7 separate regions of the Homo sapiens genome follow, and regions 1, 3, 4, 5, 6 and 7 are each linked to region 2. The links are contacts of gene promoters, found by promoter capture Hi-C in blood cells and fetal thymus (Javierre and others, 2016). All regions are on one chromosome and are shown on one strand. The core of a region is centred on a gene start or on the middle of the fragment in contact, and the rest is flanking DNA. Distances in the headings are between cores, read along the strand shown.

Region 1 (2,700 bases), core at 36-2,535, 950 kb before region 2:
AATTCCAACCTTCCCTCAGAAAAGATATAGGAAGGAGATGGTGATAGATTAACTCCATAATAGTTATTTGGGGATTATCCACTATAGTAAAAATAGAAAATAAAATATGAATAGTATGACAAATTTGTGGTCTTGTGTCCTACCAAAATATCTCCTGCCTAGAGGTTTTTTTAAAAAAATAAAAAACACTGGGGTATATAACTACACTTTCTGAATTTAGGGCTGAGAGTCATAGAGTCCAAATTATTCAACTATTCTCTGCACTATCATAATAAAGCAAGCTCATGATTTCCCAAAAGATAGAAGGTACCATTGATACATTTTTTTTCTATGAAACGTTCACAATGTTTTAGGAAAGCTTTTAATGGTACATGATCTACATCTCTGTTTAATCTATGTTTCTGTTTCATGTTTACATAGTTTTATGTATGTCAATATGTTCTCACTTTTACAGAGTCTCTCTTGAATTGTAAACTATGAGAGAGAAAGAGACTCTCTTTTATAGATACAACATGACACAAGATACTTGGAGAATTTTTAAATATAGTAAATAGTGCTTTAGTTAAATGTTATTGTGTTTTGTCATAACCTGCAACTAATAGTGCTTTTTGATCCCCCTCATGGGGTTGTTGGGATGATTAAATATGACAGCTAGGGCAAGGCACTAGCACGGTGTCTAGCAATCAGTAAATCTCCATTAAATATCAGCTCCAGGTTTGATACTGAAACAAGTATTAGGGGTCAATATTTATGCTTAAAATTAAATATGCAAAATTGTAAGATTCTTACCCCTGTAGTGATATGGTGAGAAGAGGCAGAGCACAGAAGTTAGCACAAGCTTTAGAGCTCAACAGTCAGAGTTTGGGCCATGGCTGTTATACTCAGTAACTGTATGACCTCAGGAAGTTATCTGACTCCCAGCTCTTCAGTTATCATTAAAGAATTATTTTCAAAGTCATTAGAGATAGTGTTTATAAAGCACCTAATGTGACAACCAACACATAGTAAGCATTCAATAAATAGTAGCAGTAAATCCAAGGGGGGCTTCAGTCCATATTACCTCATCTCAAAGGATTCCTCTAAGTACTTGTCATTCTGTATACAACTCTTATTTTTATCTAATAATTTGATTTTCCCCAGATGGTTATTACATATTTATATAATGCCTATGTTCGTAAAAAAGCACATAATTAATTTTTTAAATGTATTAAATGCCCTGATAAGGAAACGCATCCAAAATTGAAAAAAGGAAGAAACAAAAAAGTAGATTGCAAGTTCTTCCAATATTTTATGGGTTTAAGATTTACCCAAGGGATTACCCAAGGGATTTCCCAAGGGATTATCCAGGAGAATATAATTTGATTTACTATATACTACTGATTAAAAGTCTCAAACGTAGTGACATTACCACGAAACTTATAAATTTTTGTCCAGTAAAAATGAAAATAAAGTCTGGCTTGTGGAACAGATTATCCCAAAGGTAATGGTATCCTGTAGGATATTAACCAGAATTTTTTAATGCAGTGTAGCAATCTTATCCTGACATTCCTTTATTAAATTGCTTATAAATGCCTAAGTCCTCAAATGCTTTTGCAACCAGCATAAACATCTTACTGATTCCTTCTTTAATAGATAAGCTGAATAGAATCTTTGACTTGTTTATTTTATATTTGCATGCAACTCATGGTTTTCATTTTCTTAAAATTATGTTAGTAGCTTTGAGAAAGCTTAGTAGAAAAAATAATTACCATAGTTAATATTTTAGAAAGTGAAAAATTATTTAGCAACATGAATGATCACTTTCTAATTAATCTCTTATAGCAGCCTTTTCTATGTGTTTTCTCATACCTGAGCATTCTTGTGTTCAGGCCACTGGCATGAGCAAGTACAACTGCCACTTGCTGCAGCAAGATAAGTCGGCTGAAGTTCTAAAGTCTCTTATACAGCTGTATGAGTAATGAGTTCAAAAATCACTCTAACAATTGCTATTGGCTTCCCTTTCTTTGCTTATTCCAATCCTTATTAATGGTCTGAGAGATAAGGCTCCTGTTACCACATGCACACAATGTCTGGCTAGCATCGCACATACGAGATATGGTTTCATTCCAGTTTTCCTGCCACCAGGGGAAATAAACAACAAAGTTGGACTCTGAAGGAATGGGCTTGTTGGTTTAGCCCATTTTGCACCTTGTTAATGTCTTACTCATCCATATAGTGACCATCTGGCAACACTTGGAGCCAGATTTCTGCTTAATTAAGTCATGTGAATTATCAGAGGCTTACATACCCAAAATTTAGAAGAAACAAAGGTGTGGACAATTCTAATCTGAATTTATTATTGTGTGACTTATTCAAAGTCAGATGATGCATATTTTCATGGACAAAAAAGTTGAGGTATATGATGAATTCTATAGATTCAAAATAGTAAGAACAGAAAAGGTATAAAAGGGAAAGTTATTCTCTTCACAGAAGGATTCTCCATGGTAAAAAATAATTCATAAAAGACCTTTTAAGGAGCAAAACCCCCTAATACTCTAAACTTTTCTTTTTCTCAACACAAATGCTTAAAGCAGTGTGGTACATTAAGCAAGACTTTGGCACAATTAGTAGTGTGCCACCTTAGAGAAACCTATTCATCTCACTCGGATAGGATTTCCTTATCCAAGGAATAAAGAAGCAGACCTAGTAGAACTCTAAGAC
Region 2 (2,700 bases), core at 16-2,515:
GACAAAAAGAAAACCTTAAGGGAACACCTGTATTTTAATATAAAGTAGCGAGAGAATGAAGGAAAACGGGTCAGCCAGAGAAGAGGTAAGAGGTTAAGAGGTAAGAGGTAAGGTGATAAAAGTCAAGGAAGAAACGTTTCCAGAAAGACCGCCGAATACTGCTTAAAGGACACGTAAGTAATTTACTGTGGTCACAGAGATCACATCGAAGCTCCTAAACTCCGCACCTATTGAATGACCACACTAGAAAAACAATGTGGTTTTTCAAGAGGAACCGATGTGTCATTTTACCAATAGTTAACCTGGGACTCGGTCATCAAAATTCATTGCAAGTTCCAATCTCCTTCATTAAACCTTCTTTGCAGCCCACACAGCTCTCCTTACATTGAGCTTTTGAGGTAACTATTATTAATCATGTACGAGGACCCACGTGCTCCTTCATCCTTGTAGTACTGCGCGGTGGTTAAATGCAAGGGCTTCCGAATCAGAGGCTGGATGGATTCTAATACAGCAGTGTGACGAGCTCTTGTTAACCAACTTTTCTAAGCCTCTGTTTTCTCGTCTGCAAAAGGGGGATGGTGGTACTTACTCTATCAGAGTTGAGAAGAGTGCATGAGATGATTGCGAGTAAAAACCTTAGCGCAATGCCTTCAAAGGCTCAATTCATTTTGCTGTTACTGTGTTTTGGAATTTCCCTGAGGGTAGACGACTACTCCAACACTATTCCCTAACGCAGCAGCACTGACATGGGGACAGTGCGCCTCATTCAGCCAGCTCTCTGGGAAACAACTTTCTGAGGAAGAGAGATAAACAGCTGACGGGTTTCCCGGGACTCCGCAGCCCACCGAGACAGGGTTGACTGTAGGGCGCCGAGGAAAGGGGGAGGTGGGATCCCAGCAACCACTGGCGACCTCGGAGGACCGCAAGTCCCAGGGTGCAGCGCGCCTACCCCGGGTAGAAGCGAGAGACACGGCTCCGAGTCGGCTCGCGGGAGAGCCGGGGAAGAAGCAGTGCACACTGGGACTGGTAGTCCTCAGGGGGCAACTCCGCGGGTCGGAGGCGGGTCGAAGCGAGAGATCCCTTCCCAGTCCCGCCTTTTGTCCACGTCTCACTTCTCCTGGCCAATGCCCTCTCCAGTCGCCGGAGACAGCCCCTCTCCCATGAGGTCTCCATTGGTCCTGAGGCTCTACGGCTTCGGCCCTACCCGGAAGTAACGTTGGGGAGGCGGTTTCCTAGACTACGACACCGGAAAGCTGGGGGAGGCGCTCCGGGATACTGAGGGCGGAGGGCGGTGGCAGCGCTGGCGCTGGGGACCGGCTTGGTGGCTTCGGGAAACAGTTTGGCGCCGGCGGCCGTCCGTGTTACTCCGCATCCCGCCCCGTCTCGGCACGGCTAGCAGCCCCCTGGCCACCAGCGTCCAGCAATGTGTCTCACCGGCCGGGCGTAGCAGCTGCGCGTGCGCGGAACCGCGGGGCCATGAGCGAAGCCGGCGGCCGGGGCTGTGGGTCCCCGGTTCCCCAGCGAGCGCGATGGAGACTAGTGGCGGCGACGGCCGCGTTCTGCCTGGTGTCGGCCACCTCCGTGTGGACGGCGGGGGCCGAGCCCATGAGTAGGGAGGAGAAACAGAAGCTTGGGTAAGGGTGCTGGCAGCCTGGGGTGGGTTTCTCGGTGAGGCTGACAACAGGAGGGGTGCCTGTCATTGCGACCCGGTCGCGTAGTGGCCTCTCCTGTCGCGATTGGAACGGCTCTTCCCGCGCGAGAACCCTAGAGGGGTGGACAGGGTCCGGGGAGGTGGGAACCGCCGCCCGCGACCTGACCTCGGGGGAGCTGACGGGGTGTCGCCCTGGCCGCCGGTGACATGTGCAGGCTCCTTGAAGCCAGGCGCGGTGTGTCAACGCGGCTGCCATGTCAGTGGCCCAAGAAGGGGGCTACAGCCCGCATCGCTGCGCGCTGGAGTTCTGCGGTTGGCTGCCTGTCGACCGAAGCATGGTTAGCTTTCTCGCGCAAGTGAGCTTCCAACTGGGAAAATGTTGCTGATCTCACAGTAGTTAAGGAAATGATGTTTACACCTGTTACGGAAAAGGGGGCGTTCATTGGAACTTGAACTTTACACATTTTACTATTTCCTTGCAGTGTTTTCTTGCACTGTATTTTCATAATAGAATGTTTGGGGGGAAATTATTCAAAAGTCTCAAGTATACCTATTCAGTAGTTTTTATCCGTCTTGGAAGTGTGTTAAAATTATCAATTCTATTTACACCATTTAATTCAGAGTAATACATACACGAGGTCCTACACATGAATAAGAAAAAAGCGAAGAACCAGTAGGAAATGGGAGAAAGGCATGAACGGTTAAGCCAGAAGAGGAAATGGAAGTGGTAAATAAACATGAAAAGTTACTCAACCTCCATAAACGTAGGAGATGCAGATTAAAACGAGGAGCTAGCTGGTTTTTGCCCATCAGATTAGTAAATATAATACAAAACACAAGGATACGGTTCTGGTTAGTTAAGGAATAGAAAAAAAAGGCTTAGTGAGAGTGTAAATTGCTGTAACTTATTGGTAGTATCTACTAAAATTTAAATTGTGCACACTTTGATTCATCAGTTCTATTTCTGAGAATCTACCCTAAGAAAATAAAAGCACTCTTAATGCAGAGATAGATCCAGCCTGGGCAACAAGAGCGAAACTCTGTCTCGA
Region 3 (2,700 bases), core at 194-2,693, 800 kb after region 2:
TGATCCAAGTACAATCTATCATGTACTATTCCAGACATGACTGGGCTTAAATGAGCTACTCTGGACCCAGCCCAGTTGCCTGGTTGGCTAATACCAGTGGCCACCAAGGACTAGCTCTGGGGATGATGTGGAATGGGAATTAAGAGCTCCGGTAAAGGAGTAGGACCTAGGTTCAAATACCAGCTCTATCAGCTCTGTGATCTTGGGCAAGTTATTTAATGTTTGTTTCCTTGTCTATAAAAATAGAGACACTCATACATATCCCATGGTACATGTGAACATTAAATATATGTGATTATATATGTCAAGTATATATGTGACATATATATATATCACTCACAGAACTCTGGGTTCTGTGAGTGATAAGACCTCTGTAACAATGGCTGTAATTATTCACATTAGATCTTGAAACTATCCCGAAAGCAATGAAGCCCATTGTCCCAAGTGGCAGTACAGGGAAGGATTATTTCCAGGAAGGGATTTAATGAGAGACCAGATCAATTATGAAAGATGGAGTCAGAAATGACTACAAACAGAAGCCAGGATATACCTAACCTTCAAGTCTGTTGTCAGCAAAGATACATCCTTCTCCCCACAGACTAAGTTTCTTAGGTCTGACTCACTGTATCACTTCCTGTTTTCCTCTGTGGCTTACTGCTGCCTTCAGTGGCAAAACCCAAGCACACTTCTCTGATATTTTTGCTCAGTGATGACTTTCGGGAGCCAACCACTTGTGGCTTTTTTTTTGCAACACTTGTCCTGTGAATGCAATGACTGCCTATGTTTGATGGAAACAAAGTGGCTAAAAGCAGTCTCTTTGGCTGAAATGTTAAAGCCACACAGGCCATGTGAGTCCAAAGGAGACCAGCAGCCTAGAATGGGTAACTCAAAATATAACATCTTCCCAAGTCTCAGGCCCCAGGAGGGAGAGTGAGACAGCTCCTCAGACAATATCATGAACAGGAGGAAGCTGGTACATTAAGCTTCTTTCTCTTAAAAACCTAACCGTGTACCTGGTGGACCCTCCCTATTGATTTTAAAAGAAACTAATAAGGAGTGGAGTGGAGCAGAAAGGACCAGAATATTCTCGGCTGCTATTGGGAAGACAAAGACATGCACTGCATATGCACAGAAATATGACTGTAAGTGTCAAGTTTGAAGTAATGAGACCAGCTCTTGTGTTTGGCCTAAGAACTCTGTCTCACTACGTTCTAGAATTTCACATCATTCGCCAATAAGTAAAATTGGATGTCAGGATTTCTCTATAATATTTCAGTGAAGTTAAACAGATCATACCCTTTGGACAGTATCTCAGGATGGGCAAAGTTATGCTGGAATATAAAAATCTGATTGGCTTCATACAACAATGGCTTATTTCTTGCTATCCAAGTCTGCAGAGCAGGTGTCTTTCCTGGGAGCTGCCCTTCATGTGTTGATGCAATGTTCCAGGCTGCTTCCAATTCACATCTGCTATCCATATCCACACATGCCGCTATGAGCACAGTGGTGGGACCAAGGGCAGTGTCGGGGGAGCCCTTGGAGAGTGGAGCAGCAGCACCACACTATAAACTTTCCCCAGAAAGTCATATAGCCCTGAGTAACTTCAAGGGCAAGAGAGTGTATTCCTCTCCTGTGCCTGGAATAGAGGTGAACAGATACGTTACAGTAGTCATGGCCATTACCCATAGTTCTTTCAACAACCCAGTTACCAGCTATCATTTTAAATTTTCTTTGTATTATCCCTTTAAGGAAAATCAAATGAGGACTTTGAATTTGTATAATACTAAACATTCTTCGAGGACTTTGAATTTTTATAATACTAAACATTCTTCAAGGCCTTTTCAGGTTTCTTAACCAATATTACTTCCAAACTTTAAAATACATAGTTTGCAAAGGAAGCTTTTTTAGAGTATCAAATAAATAAAACTTTCATTATTGAAGAAGTAGTGTCACTCCCAGCTGGAATCTTCCCATTAGACATGGGCCAGCTCTCTGTGGTTAGATCCTGTTAAAGCAATGGACCTTTTGCGCACCCACACCTAAACCTGCCCAGGTGGGATAAAAATAGTCCCCCACTTTGACAATTTTAAATGCAGAGAAAAAAGTGTTTTTCAGTAAAAATTCTAGCCTATTTCTGAGCTCTTTCATCATGGGCCATAGTAAGTAATAGCTAAGAGTTGTTGAGCATTTACTGTGTTAAAGTGGTGAGTGCTTTGCACGCAGGTCTCATTTAAATTTTATAACACAGATACACTTCTATTATCCCAATTTTACACCAAAGAAATGAGCTTAAAGAGGTCCCCTAACTCTCCTACTCCTTCGCAAACCAAGGTTTGGACCCAGATCATCCGACTCTGGAGCCCTTCCTCTTAACCATTATCCTAAACTGCCTCCCAAATATTCTTGAAATAAGTCTTAAGGGAAGTGGAGCAAATGTTGCAATCTCCATATAATCAAATGCTCCTGAAACCAGTGCCCTGACCAGCAGGGTTCCTGTGTGGCTACTCAATCCTGGAGAACTGCTGCCATTGTCCCCTGCCCTGTATTTCCAAGTTATATTCCAACCCTAGAGATCAGGCATGCGGATGGAATTCTGATTTCTGACCCTTTCATTAACAAAGCACTCTGCATGTTTCTTGTGTCTTCCAGTTGACCGTCCTCCAATGGAACCCTCCCAGTATGTCTCAGTTGTCCCTAAAT
Region 4 (2,700 bases), core at 156-2,655, 560 kb before region 2:
GCGGGGGGACGGGGTGCGGGCGGGGCGAGGGAGACATACAAGAAATCTGTGAGAAAAAAAGGGGCGGGGGAATAAGTCTCCTTGCCTCAAGATTTTAGAAAAAAAGTTGTAAACCTATTGCAGATGAAGGCTCCCACAATTTATTTTTCCTGCTTCTATAAGCATAAATAGTTAATGATAAAAATGGTAAGAGGCATTGACAAAGAGCTCCTAGAATGTCTACAAATTAAGGTGAGTGATCAAACACAAGGTTAGGCCTAGACAGCTTAAGTGTCCTCCACAAATCAGGATAAGCGTTAACAGGACATTAACCTGGAAGCCTTTACCAAACTCTAATTTGGATATAATTTTACCTCACTAAATCCCTCACCTTCAATCAAAACTCCTTTCCCACGTGCCCTTCAGAGTCCACGAAGTTGCTGCCAGATCCCAGCTTAAATCACGTTTCGCTTTCACAGATCTCCCTCCCGGGCAAGGTGGTGGGGTGGATAATGAAGTTTGGCACCTGGTATAAAGGGCCCCAGTAGGTTAGGATAGGAACTACCACTTCTCAGGTGTGTTTTCTTTTTCCGGAAGAGGGCAAGACCAGTAGAGAACTGACTCAGCGTCTCCGACACGAGGAGAGCTGCACGCAGACAAAACAGACCCGGGGGGTGAAAAGTGGAAGTAAACTGGTGTTTGTGGCACCACTGATTTACACCTTCTCTGACTTCTCCAATATTTTTTTCCCCAAGTGACTCAATCTTCTCACCCAAACCAGGCCAAATGAGGGGTTAGTTGTTCGACTTCTTCTCAGAGTGCCTCTCTTCTTCCTCACACTCTCCACGCCTCCTCTCCGCACCCGCCACTTCCCCCCCGACCCTTAAGTTAAGGGCTCATGCCCAACTAGATCCTAATGTCCACGACGAGCAGCTCCAGTCTAGGGGGGGTTGCCTAGAAGTAGGTCTGACGCCGAGCAATCTAATCTCCCACGTCTGATCTCTCAGGCTATTGTGCCTCGAGGGGAAGTCAGAACAGGTGAGGGCGGCTTGAGGGAACCAGTTCCGGGACAGGCAACGCACAGGGCGGCGAAAGTGAGGGTGCGGGGCAAGGAACGGAGGGAGGGACAAAGGCGCGATAAGAGGAACGAGGGCGCCCCCCGAGCGCCGCCTATCTCCTCAGGATCACCTTGCGCTGACCTAGTTACACCGAGAAGGAAGGAACCCCAGTAGACCAGGGAGGAAGGCGGGGCGGGATGTGGGCGGGGCCGCGGGTGGGGCGGGGCTTAGAGTGGGATCTTTATGGAGCTCGCCTGTGATTTGCAGATGGATTCGAGACGGAAGCGGGCTGGGAGGCGTCGGCGGCGGCAGCGCACGTGGTGACGTGCGAGGGGGTGCGGCGCGAGCGGTCGGCGGCGGCGGAGGCAGTGTCTCCCGGTCGCGCGTGGAGGTCGGTCGCTCAGAGCTGCTGGGCGCAGTTTCTCCGCCTGCTGCTTCGGCGCGGCTGTATCGGCGAGCGAGCGAGTTCCCGCGAGTTCTCGGTGGCGCTCCCCCTTCCTTTCAGTCTCCACGGACTGGCCCCTCGTCCTTCTACTTGACCGCTCCCGTCTTCCGCCGCCTTCTGGCGCTTTCCGTTGGGCCGATTCCCGCCCGCTTCCTCCTGCTTCCCATCGAAGCTCTAGAAATGAATGTTTCCATCTCTTCAGAGATGAACCAGGTAATACGCGCTGGTTCTACGAACGACAGATGAGGGAGACGGCGCGGCTAGAATCCGAGAAGAAGGGATGGCGCCGGCGGATGGGAAGAGGGTGGGAGGCGCGGAAGCGGTGTCCTCATCAGGGGAGGCAGCCCCAAGCGGCCGCCGCCGCCCTCTGGGACGTGAAGCCCGCGCCGCGCTGGGCCCGCGCTCCAGCGCTGCCATGGTTGCCAAGTTGCGTTGGCGGCCGAGAGCGGGCGCCGGTCGCCTCGGAGAGCGCGGAGGCTGGAGCCCCTTTGCTACACTGGCGCGGGTGAGGCAGGCTGGGAGGAACAAGAGTTTTTTGTTCGAAGGGTTTTGGGGGGCCTGGGTTAGGGCGCCGCGGGCGGGGATGACCCGCCGGAAGGAGGGCGCGGGACTCCCCGTTCTTGCTGTCAGGAACGGACGCCTCGCCTCGGGTTTGCCTGGGGTTTGGGATTCTCTTCTGGAAGAGCTCTCGAGACTCGGCTCGTGTGGGCGGGCAGCCAGCCCCGGGCCTGGAGTAGGGTGGCACGGAGTCCCCGATCGCCGTGGGCCGCGGGGTCCTTTGTTCCCGCTCCACGTTGCCCGCTTTTCTTGCCAAGCGCGGGGAGAAGGGGGCGGGAGGAGGGAGGGAGCGGCTGCCCTGACGTGTCGGTACTGAGTGACTGCGGGGCTGGCCAATCCGGGGCGGGGGTGTGCGGGTGCTGGGGGCCTCGCCTCGCAGCCTGCGGAGTGGGCGCCGGCCTGGCTGCGCGAGGAGGAAGGCCTGGGACGCTCTTTCTTTTTTATGAAAGAAATCAGTGGCAAGATTTGCTCTTTTTCCGTCCCTCCACGCTTTTGGTTAAGTGTCTCTGATTATAAGCTCTTGATGATAGGAAGGTATCAGGCTGAGGGTTGAACCTAGGGTAACTTGAACCACTACTTGAGAACTACATTTACTTTTTCCCCCAATAGGTAGTGGACATATCTATTGGTTTGAGACAGCTGACATTTCAAGGAGAAATC
Region 5 (2,700 bases), core at 94-2,593, 540 kb before region 2:
GAGGATTCAGCACTAAAATCCTTGAGATCACTTCTCATTTCATAAGTGACATGCTTAATGCAAATAATATATGGGAATACTTTGGGTCAAAGTTTTCCTGCATTACCTTGGATGCCAAAGAGGTAGTTTGGTGGCCAAAAAGTATCTTTTTTTAAGAAGCTGTTGTAGCTAGTCTGCATGAACATGAGAAGTTTCCATAAAGGAAAAAAAGCAGTGCTCAGTGGCCATTTGTTACTGTTAATCTGTATCTAAAAGGTACATACTTTCTTCAGAGAGGGAGAAAATGGCATAGCCTCAGCACAATTTAAAAAAAAAAAAAAGCTTTTTAACCAGTAGGAATTTTTGAATAGTTTCAAAATAATATTGATAATACCACACTTCTGGTCAACTTAATAAAACACTCTAAATTTCCTAAAAAGGTAGAAAAGCTATAAAATATCTAAACCAAATATTATTGGTTATACTCGGGTGGATCTTTTATTATGAACTTTAAATGTAGGGTTCTGATTTTTGGCTTCTAGTGTGTCATGTACTTTACCACTGCTCAACATGTTTTCAAATTCCCAATATAATAATCATATTTTAGGGAAAATCCAGGATTTGAGTATGTGATATATCATTAGAATCCTTGCTTAATTAACAAATTAGGTGTGTGCCCTATTACCTCTCCTGACCTCAGAATTCTTAAAATTGAAGTAGGCAAAGGAGGAGCCCCAGTAGGACATTTCTGTAACTGCATGCAGAGTTGCCTTCAGAAAAGTGAATATGATTCATGGAAAATTCAGTTGCTGTCGTAATTTACACGCAGCTGCTTTTTGTTCCAAAAAAAAAAGGTCTGAAGAGTCAGCAAGTGAGACATAAGATACAAGGTTAATTAACTAGGTGTAAAGGAGAAAGAAAAACACTCATATATGAATCCTTAAATCCTTGGTAAGACTGAGCTACAAGTTTCATCCTATAAACAGGTTTTATTAAGTTAAATCAGTGTCTCTAGGTTAAAAAGGAGTAATTGCTATGAATTGCAGATATCCTTCATAATAAAACTGCCAGTTTCTCAAGAATATTAATGACACTTTGAACAAGTAGAGTTTATAAACAGGAACATACAAACTCATGTGAATGTCATGGGTTCTTCAACCTATGAGCATCAATAATCTTGGCCAATAAAATAATGAACTTTATTAACAGCTCCACACCTTACTGGGTGGAGAGAACAAAGGTGAGAAGCAAAACTCAATCATTATGCTGGATCTGTGTGGAATGCCTTTAACAGAGGCATATATCTGAATAGAGGCCACACACTTGCTCAGGATGACCAAAGGAAGTAACATAATTTTAGCCAGAAAAAAAAGGCACACAGAAAGACCTAACTTGGAGTAATGAAACTACTGAGATGAAATGTCCAGCAAGGTAATAAGATGAGATCTGTTAAAACGATTTTTAAATGGGTAAAATATTTGAAGACACTTTGCAAAAGAAGTTGATGCCATAAGAACACAGGAAAATACTATCATAAATCATTAAGAAAATGTAAATTAAAACCAAAATGGCATACACCTATTGAAACTGAATATACCAAATTCTGCTTACGATGCAGAGCAACTTGAACTCTCATACATTGCTGGAGGAACTGCAAAGGTGCACAGGCAGTTTAAAAAACAATCCATCCATTTTCTAATAATCTGTGACAAAGCAATCCCATTCGTAGGTATTTACCCAAGTGAAGGAACATATTCACACAAACCTGTATGTGAATATAGCAACTTTATTCATAATCACCAAAAACTGAATTCAGTGAAGTAGCCTTCCACCTGGTGAATGAATAAATTTGTACATCCATGGCAATGCAATACTTCTTGGGAATAAAATAATGAACTACTGATAATATGGATAAGTCTCAAGCATCATGCTAAATAAAAAGCCAGACTCAAAAGCCTCCATTAGCTGGGCATAGTGGCATGCACTTGTAGTCCCAGCTACTCAGGAGGCTGAGGTGAGAGGATTGCCTGAGCCCAGGAGTTCAAGGCTGTAGTATGCTATAATGTCTGAACAGCCACTGCACTTGGGCAACATAGCAAGACCCTGTCTCTTAAAAAAACAGTCTCCATTTATATAGCATTCAGGAATAGGAAAAACTACAGGGAAGGCAAACACATCAATGGCCTCCTGAGCTGGGAATGGGAGTTAATTACAAAGGGACATGAGGGAATTTTTAGGGGTGGTGTGACTTCAATATCTTGACTGCTGATGATTGATTGATTACATGTTTGACAGAACTCACAGAACTCTACACTTACGAAGGAAAAAAAGTTTTGTTTTTCTAGCTTAACCAAAGTGGTACCAAACCTTTAAAATATCAAGCTTAGAAGAAGGGCTAGAACATGTCCATATTTTACCTCATTAGAAATAAAGAATAGGATGTTGAAAATGGTTTGTGCTTTAAGAAGACTGAACCAAGCTAGTAGCTCGGATTTGGGTGTCCACCACCTCACCTTCCAGGCTTATAACTGGTAATTCTGCTCAAGAATCTGTCCTCAGTGTTTTCAACATCGAGAATTAATTTGAGACAAACTACATCTAGTTCATAAACAAAGCTAGAATTAAAAAGGATTCCTGTCACAGGCCAAAACTAGTCTACAAACCCTCAGGGTGGCCAATTCTTGCTTTTAACAACAGCCAAAGATATTAAAGAATTCCATG
Region 6 (2,700 bases), core at 185-2,684, 920 kb before region 2:
TAGGATAGCTGATCTAGAAGGAACCCTAGAAGGTATCTCACCTTGCCCCCTGACATTTGATGGAGAAAAAACTGGGAAGCAGATAGTTCACTGATTTAAGTTAGACACAGGTCAGTGGCTAAGCATGTAACTAAACTATAAGTAGACTAATAGTTGCATGAATCTCTTCTCTGCTCTTTTTATGTAGGACAGAGTTCACTGTCATCCTCTTGCCTTCCCTTTTAGGATCCTCTCTGCTATCCACTTGTCACAAGTGCCTAATCTATGCTCTATTCCTAAAGAGTCTGACTTTCCCAGTTAACTATTAAGTTTGGAAAATAATCTCTTAAACTAGAATGTAGTCTTAAACCAAAATGTAACTATGGCATATTAACAGATGTTGTCTAACAACAGTAGTCTCTAGTCAAATTGGTTTGGAAAATTCTAGGTTAAGCAAAGGTTTCTTTTCTGTAGAATAGTTTCAGAACTTTAATATGCTGATGTGCATTGTGAGTCTTCAGGTATGCATATCTCAACCTTATTAGATTATGGCAACTTTTTTTTACAAAGCAGATATCATAGATAGTATAATAAAGTGAAACACAATTTGAAAAACACTGTGACACAGCTAATTCCTAATAAGCTTATCTTGGATGTATACTTTCCAAAAATATAGGTACTTTTAGTAATTATTAATAAAATGAATTGTCATTTTGATCATTTAAAATACATAGTAGAAAATTAAACTGACCTCTATTTATACTAGCTAATGATAAGAAGAGATCCAGAGCCTTTTAAAATTGACTTTTGGAAGATTAAAAAGGCTTTAAGATGTGAAGAAATTAAAACTTAAGATGGCACTTCATATACTGTGAAATGAGATGCTGAGGGTGGATGACAGGAGAACTCTACCAGTTAACATCAGATTACTTCACGTCGGTATCTGCTCCCTTGTGAATAGAGGTACCATTTATTCAGCACTTGCTGCATGCTACACTGTGCTAAGCACTTTATTTACACCAGCTCTAGAAGGGTAGAGCCTATTACAATTCAAACCCAAGCTGGTCAAGTTTCAAAGCCTATGCTATTAATCTGACTATGACACACCTTCCCCAGCCTATCCCAGTTAGCAAAATTCAAATAATTCACATGAACTCTGCTTTTTCTTCCATACTGCAACTCCTGAAAGTGCCAAGATGTAAGCCAGAATTCTGCCCATATTTCAGAACCATTTCCCTCTCCTTCAAGCTGCCTGCTTGTCATTTTGTGTAAGTTTTATGATTTCATTTTAGAACAGCACTTCCCATATATTCTCAGGGTTTATTACTATCATTCCTTACCAAGGTGTGCTTAGGCAGAAGAACGGATACACTCACCAGCACATTGTTCATTTTTAGGTACTTAGTTTTAAATAAAATGTGCAGTTTAAATAAGAATGAAGCAGAAAGTTAAGTAGAGAATAAGAATTTTTATCATTTCGCTCAATGAATGCCTACCATTTAAAAATTTTTAATGCAATCTAATTCTAAATGCATCTACTCAGCACAATGAGAAGAGACAGAGAGAAATAAGTGGACCCTTCTTAAAGTGTTTACCATCTTTCTACAAATCCTACCTGACATGCCTCTAGGAATATTTTCTCAGACAACAGAAACTGAGATGCAATGAATTCAGTTACTTTACATAGAAAAATTGTTGCCTAACATCCTATATAGTTTGAGTGAGTTAACTTTCATAGCCCATTATTTTCACTTATTAAAAGAGAGATAAAAGAAACTTCTTTCATGTTCTGTTCATTCCTCTGTTTTTCAATTTCTCTACAGGAATTTTTGTCCACATCATGCATGAAAGACACAGTAGAGAACAGAGCTATCGTCCAACTGCATCAGATCTTACTGACTGTTGCTTCAATTAACTAAAACTTTCAGAAAAACAATATCTGTCCTCAGGAACCTAAGCAGTTGCCTCCACTTCTCCCATTTATTTTGTAGGAGTCTATACATAATTCCATAATCTTTAAAACTGAGACCCCTTGAGATTGCGTTTTTAAAGTAATGTTGAAAAAGATTCTACTGCTGAACATTTATTTTCGGTCTCTAATGAAGGGAGAGAGTAACCTTCATTCCTGAAGAGTTGTGACAATGTAAACATAAAACATTTATCTAGAATTTGGTCAGAGGAGCATATATGAAAGTCACCAGAATGTGCTAAATCATGACCATGACCATAACAATAGAAACGGGAGAAAAAAAGTTGTCAGAAGCTTAGAGCCATGTTTTCATAGGGGTGGAGGGGCACAGAGAGGATGTATTGCTCTTCGTCTATCTTGAGCAAATGTTTGCTTTGGTCTATTTTTACTTCCTCTCCCACTTCCTACTAAACATGTCGCACTAGAGTCAGTCATGTCAATATTTAAAGGGACTCATTTAGCAGCTGCATTGTCTCCACTTCCCGTCATCACGGAACACTAATGTTAGCTGTTGTCTACTTTCAAAATAAGTTTTAAACATAGTTATCTCCATCCTTATGCCCTCTTCCCACAATTGACTTCCACATTTTCAAATCAAACCACTTCTAATAATAGTTCATCAGTTCTGAAGTTCTACTTTGTGTTTCATATTCAGTGTTCCAAAGAAGCTGAAGGAAAGATACAAAATTAATGTATTAATTCAATTTACTGACCTTCTGAATCAGATCTCTCCAGTAGCAAACCCTGGGCAT
Region 7 (2,700 bases), core at 172-2,671, 700 kb after region 2:
CTGCAGTGCGAGAGGGCTCAGAAACTGGGAGGAAAGTTGCATCAGCCCCTCCTTCTGACCAAGGTAGCTAGAACCTGCGCGAACGCTCTCTAGTTTCGCTCTGCGTTTATTCAAATCTGAGCAAATTCTAACGTGAAAAATATTAAAGAGTAGCCTGCGCCCTGAAGCTCTTAATCCTCTTTAAGTCAGTGCTGCCGATAACTCTCTGAGAAAGTTGGGGGATACATACGTCCTCTTTGCCTTCAGCAGTGGGGTCCTGGTTTCTGATTGCTGGGGACGGGAAAGGCCTTACTCAGTGCCCTGACATAGAACTTTAAAGTAGAACCATACTTTCAGGGTGGACCCACGTTTCAGGATTAGAGGAAACACGAGTTGCTGAACGAGTGTTCAGAAAGGTAGGATACAAACTAGCATAAGCATGTGATCTGGAAGCCAAGGATGAGGAGTTTCAAACAGGCAGAGTAGCACATTTTAAGTATTTTTTAATTTACTGTGAGTGAAATGGGAAGCTATTGGAGGCTCCTGGACGTTTTCATAGGATCACTCTGACTGATATGTTGAGGATAGACTGGAGGGAGCAAGGACACAAACAGAGACTGGTTAGGAGGCTATCGCATTGACCAGGACAAGGGTGACTCAAAATCCAAAGTCCCAGGCAGGACATAACTTCTGTTTTCAACCATGATAGACTAAGACCCTAGTGGACCATCCCCCAGCAGAAAACAATTTGGACACAATGCAAAAAGCTGAATATACTGGAATGTGAATAGTGGACTGGTAGGAAGGGCAAGCTTGCTTGAAGATCAGGAACTACACTTGGACACAATACAAAAAGCTGAATATACTGGAATGTGAACAGCAGACTGGTAGGAAGGGCAAGCTTGCTTGAAGATCAAGAACTCCACAAGAAAATTCTCCTCTCTTTGGCATTTAGCTTGGGGCAAAGTGCAGTCCAGAAGTCAGGCTCAGCAGTACCAGGGATGCATGTATAAAACTTATCAGTTATTCTTGTCTGGGGAAGCAGAAAAGTGAAGACAGAAAATTTTGAATTCTGAAGAGATTAAGAAATCCCAAGGAAGGAGTCAGAGAGTGGATCCCCAAACTGTCAACCCACATCTCTGAGAGATCCTGAACCACCCAAAACAGAATCACAGCAGCTCAGTTAAAAACAAAAGATCTGAACTGAGACCAGAGCTGTCTCCAAAAGGGAGAGAGTTTTCAGTTAAAATCTAGCCGGGAAAATTACCTACTAATACAAAGGAAATAACACTCATCAGAGAAGAATAATAGAATCCAGACTCTCCACTTAACACTCACAAAGTCCAGAGTACTATCCAAAACTATCTGACATATGAAATTCAAGGAAATGGATCGCATACTCTAGAGATCAACCCTGAGATGAATCAGATATTGAAACTGACAGATAAGGATTTTAAAGTGACTATTATAACTATCCTCAATGAAGTAAAACATGTTTTCAATGAATGAAAATCTCAGGAGACAAATAGAAAATCTCAGCAAAGAAAAAGAAAAAAAAAGATTTTTAAAACCAAATGGAAATTCTGAAAATTGAAAATTATAATTTTAGAAATAAAAAATTCACTGGGTGAATTTAACAGCCAAAAAAAATTACAAAAGAAAAAGTAGGGAACTTGAAGATAGAGCAATAGAAATTATTAAAAGTAAACAACAAAGAGAAAAATTATCTTTAAAAAGTGAGTAGACCAACAGAGATTTGCTACATGTCAGACAATCCAACATGCATGTAAACAACAGAAGTAGAAAAAAAAAGGGACAGAAAAAATTTTTGAAGAAAGAGTGGTGGCCAGAATTTCCCCAAATTTGATGAAAAACACATTTACTAGTACAAAATGCTAAATACATAGCAACTAAAATAAACACAAAGAAGTCTACATTGTAATAAAACTATTGAAAGTCAAAAAAATAAAGAGAAAAGCTTGAATGCATCAAAAGAAATAACACATCATACACAGGGAAAAGAAGGGCATCTATTATTGAATGAAATGTAAAGCCACACATGAAGATTCATATGTTGCCCTCAAATACATTACATTTGAATGAACCTTTGCCACCACAAAGCAGCTGCTAAGCCCGAAAGAAGAAAATGGCACTGAAATTAATTGGGTCATTGAAGCATGAAACACTGACACGAATTCAAGTGATTGGAAGTGAATAAATCTCTCTGACTCCTAAAGATCCAAATCAGTTCATATGATGGCATTTTTAAAAGCATTAAGAGTATTTTGATGCTAATCTGAGTAGAGGGAAACTTTTATAAATCAGTAAGGATATCCAATGGGATTAGGGACTATATGAACCAGCCTCAAACATCTGCAGGGGAAGAATTTCAGCTTATGTTCAAGAAAAAATAATTGGGGGTATGGAAAGAACCATAAACCAAAAAAGCAACAGATAAATGCCATCCTTTGGCAAATAGATTAAATACTGTTGCTTAGAAAAAGCATGATACATTCAAGAATGAGTATTACGTGCTTTTCAAAAGAGTTGAAGAATGAAAAGGGAGTGTCTGTTAGCTTCCCTGTTAATGTAAATTTTTAAATAGGTCTTGGTGATTGTGAATGGCTAAGAATGAACACAAAGGATTTGGGAACACTTAGACAACCCAGTATTTAAAGTACAGAATCAAAATACCTATTGTGACAATCTAGAGTGAAATCC

What was found. Contacts are between HindIII fragments. The CHiCAGO score rates a contact against its expected background, and 5 or more counts as called.
Region 1: a contact is called between a fragment that was not itself captured here and the fragment with the promoter of EDEM3 in region 2, in 2 of 17 cell types (total B cells and naive B cells). The highest score is 7.8, in total B cells.
Region 3: a contact is called between a fragment that was not itself captured here and the fragment with the promoter of EDEM3 in region 2, in 2 of 17 cell types (total CD8 T cells and non-activated CD4 T cells). The highest score is 5.8, in total CD8 T cells.
Region 4: the fragment with the promoter of IVNS1ABP here is called in contact with the fragment with the promoter of EDEM3 in region 2 in 9 of 17 cell types (naive CD4 T cells, total B cells, neutrophils and 6 more); the score reaches 9.3 in naive CD4 T cells.
Region 5: a contact is called between a fragment that was not itself captured here and the fragment with the promoter of EDEM3 in region 2, in 1 of 17 cell types (non-activated CD4 T cells). The highest score is 5.1, in non-activated CD4 T cells.
Region 6: a contact is called between a fragment that was not itself captured here and the fragment with the promoter of EDEM3 in region 2, in 9 of 17 cell types (naive CD4 T cells, total CD4 T cells, total B cells and 6 more). The highest score is 17.1, in naive CD4 T cells.
Region 7: a fragment that was not itself captured here is called in contact with the fragment with the promoter of EDEM3 in region 2 in 1 of 17 cell types (fetal thymus); the score reaches 5.8 in fetal thymus.

What each region holds. Positions count from the first base shown.
Region 1 is chr1:185,703,712-185,706,411 of GRCh38, reverse strand. No RefSeq gene overlaps it. Among named protein-coding and RNA genes, the nearest start is that of HMCN1, 29 kb to the left of the region's middle. The HindIII fragment of the contact is 889 bases long and covers 841-1,729 here.
Region 2 is chr1:184,753,423-184,756,122 of GRCh38, reverse strand. It overlaps EDEM3 (ER degradation enhancing alpha-mannosidase like protein 3), which reads left to right and starts at 1,265. Exons shown (of 20, transcript NM_025191.4): 1 at 1,265-1,634. The coding sequence starts at 1,477. LOC105371649 (a long non-coding RNA gene) reads right to left here and starts at 949. Exons shown (of 3, transcript XR_922357.4): 1 at 590-949. RefSeq lists enhancers at 1,012-1,111, 1,582-1,681. The HindIII fragment of the contact is 1,960 bases long and covers 1-1,631 here.
Region 3 is chr1:183,954,788-183,957,487 of GRCh38, reverse strand. COLGALT2 (collagen beta(1-O)galactosyltransferase 2) reads left to right here. Exons shown (of 12, transcript NM_015101.4): 7 at 2,650-2,700. Among named protein-coding and RNA genes, the nearest start is that of COLGALT2, 82 kb to the left of the region's middle. RefSeq lists a silencer at 1,492-1,656. The HindIII fragment of the contact is 916 bases long and covers 986-1,901 here.
Region 4 is chr1:185,315,948-185,318,647 of GRCh38, reverse strand. IVNS1ABP (influenza virus NS1A binding protein) reads left to right here and starts at 1,405. Exons shown (of 15, transcript NM_006469.5): 1 at 1,405-1,695. CBSLR (CBS mRNA stabilizing lncRNA) reads right to left here and starts at 1,196. Exons shown (of 4, transcript XR_007066771.1): 1 at 371-1,196. RefSeq lists enhancers at 387-466, 717-816, 1,466-2,079 and silencers at 1,147-1,456, 1,917-1,976. The HindIII fragment of the contact is 11,176 bases long and covers 1-2,700 here.
Region 5 is chr1:185,293,706-185,296,405 of GRCh38, reverse strand. It overlaps IVNS1ABP (influenza virus NS1A binding protein), which reads left to right. Exons shown (of 15, transcript NM_006469.5): 15 at 1-18. Among named protein-coding and RNA genes, the nearest start is that of IVNS1ABP, 22 kb to the left of the region's middle. The HindIII fragment of the contact is 2,040 bases long and covers 324-2,363 here.
Region 6 is chr1:185,674,028-185,676,727 of GRCh38, reverse strand. All of the region lies in intron 1 of LOC107985239 (a long non-coding RNA gene), which reads right to left. Among named protein-coding and RNA genes, the nearest start is that of GS1-204I12.4, 29 kb to the right of the region's middle. The HindIII fragment of the contact is 1,620 bases long and covers 625-2,244 here.
Region 7 is chr1:184,048,958-184,051,657 of GRCh38, reverse strand. No RefSeq gene overlaps it. Among named protein-coding and RNA genes, the nearest start is that of TSEN15, 1.4 kb to the left of the region's middle. RefSeq lists enhancers at 1-143, 22-151, 212-321, 74-1,009. The HindIII fragment of the contact is 1,077 bases long and covers 883-1,959 here.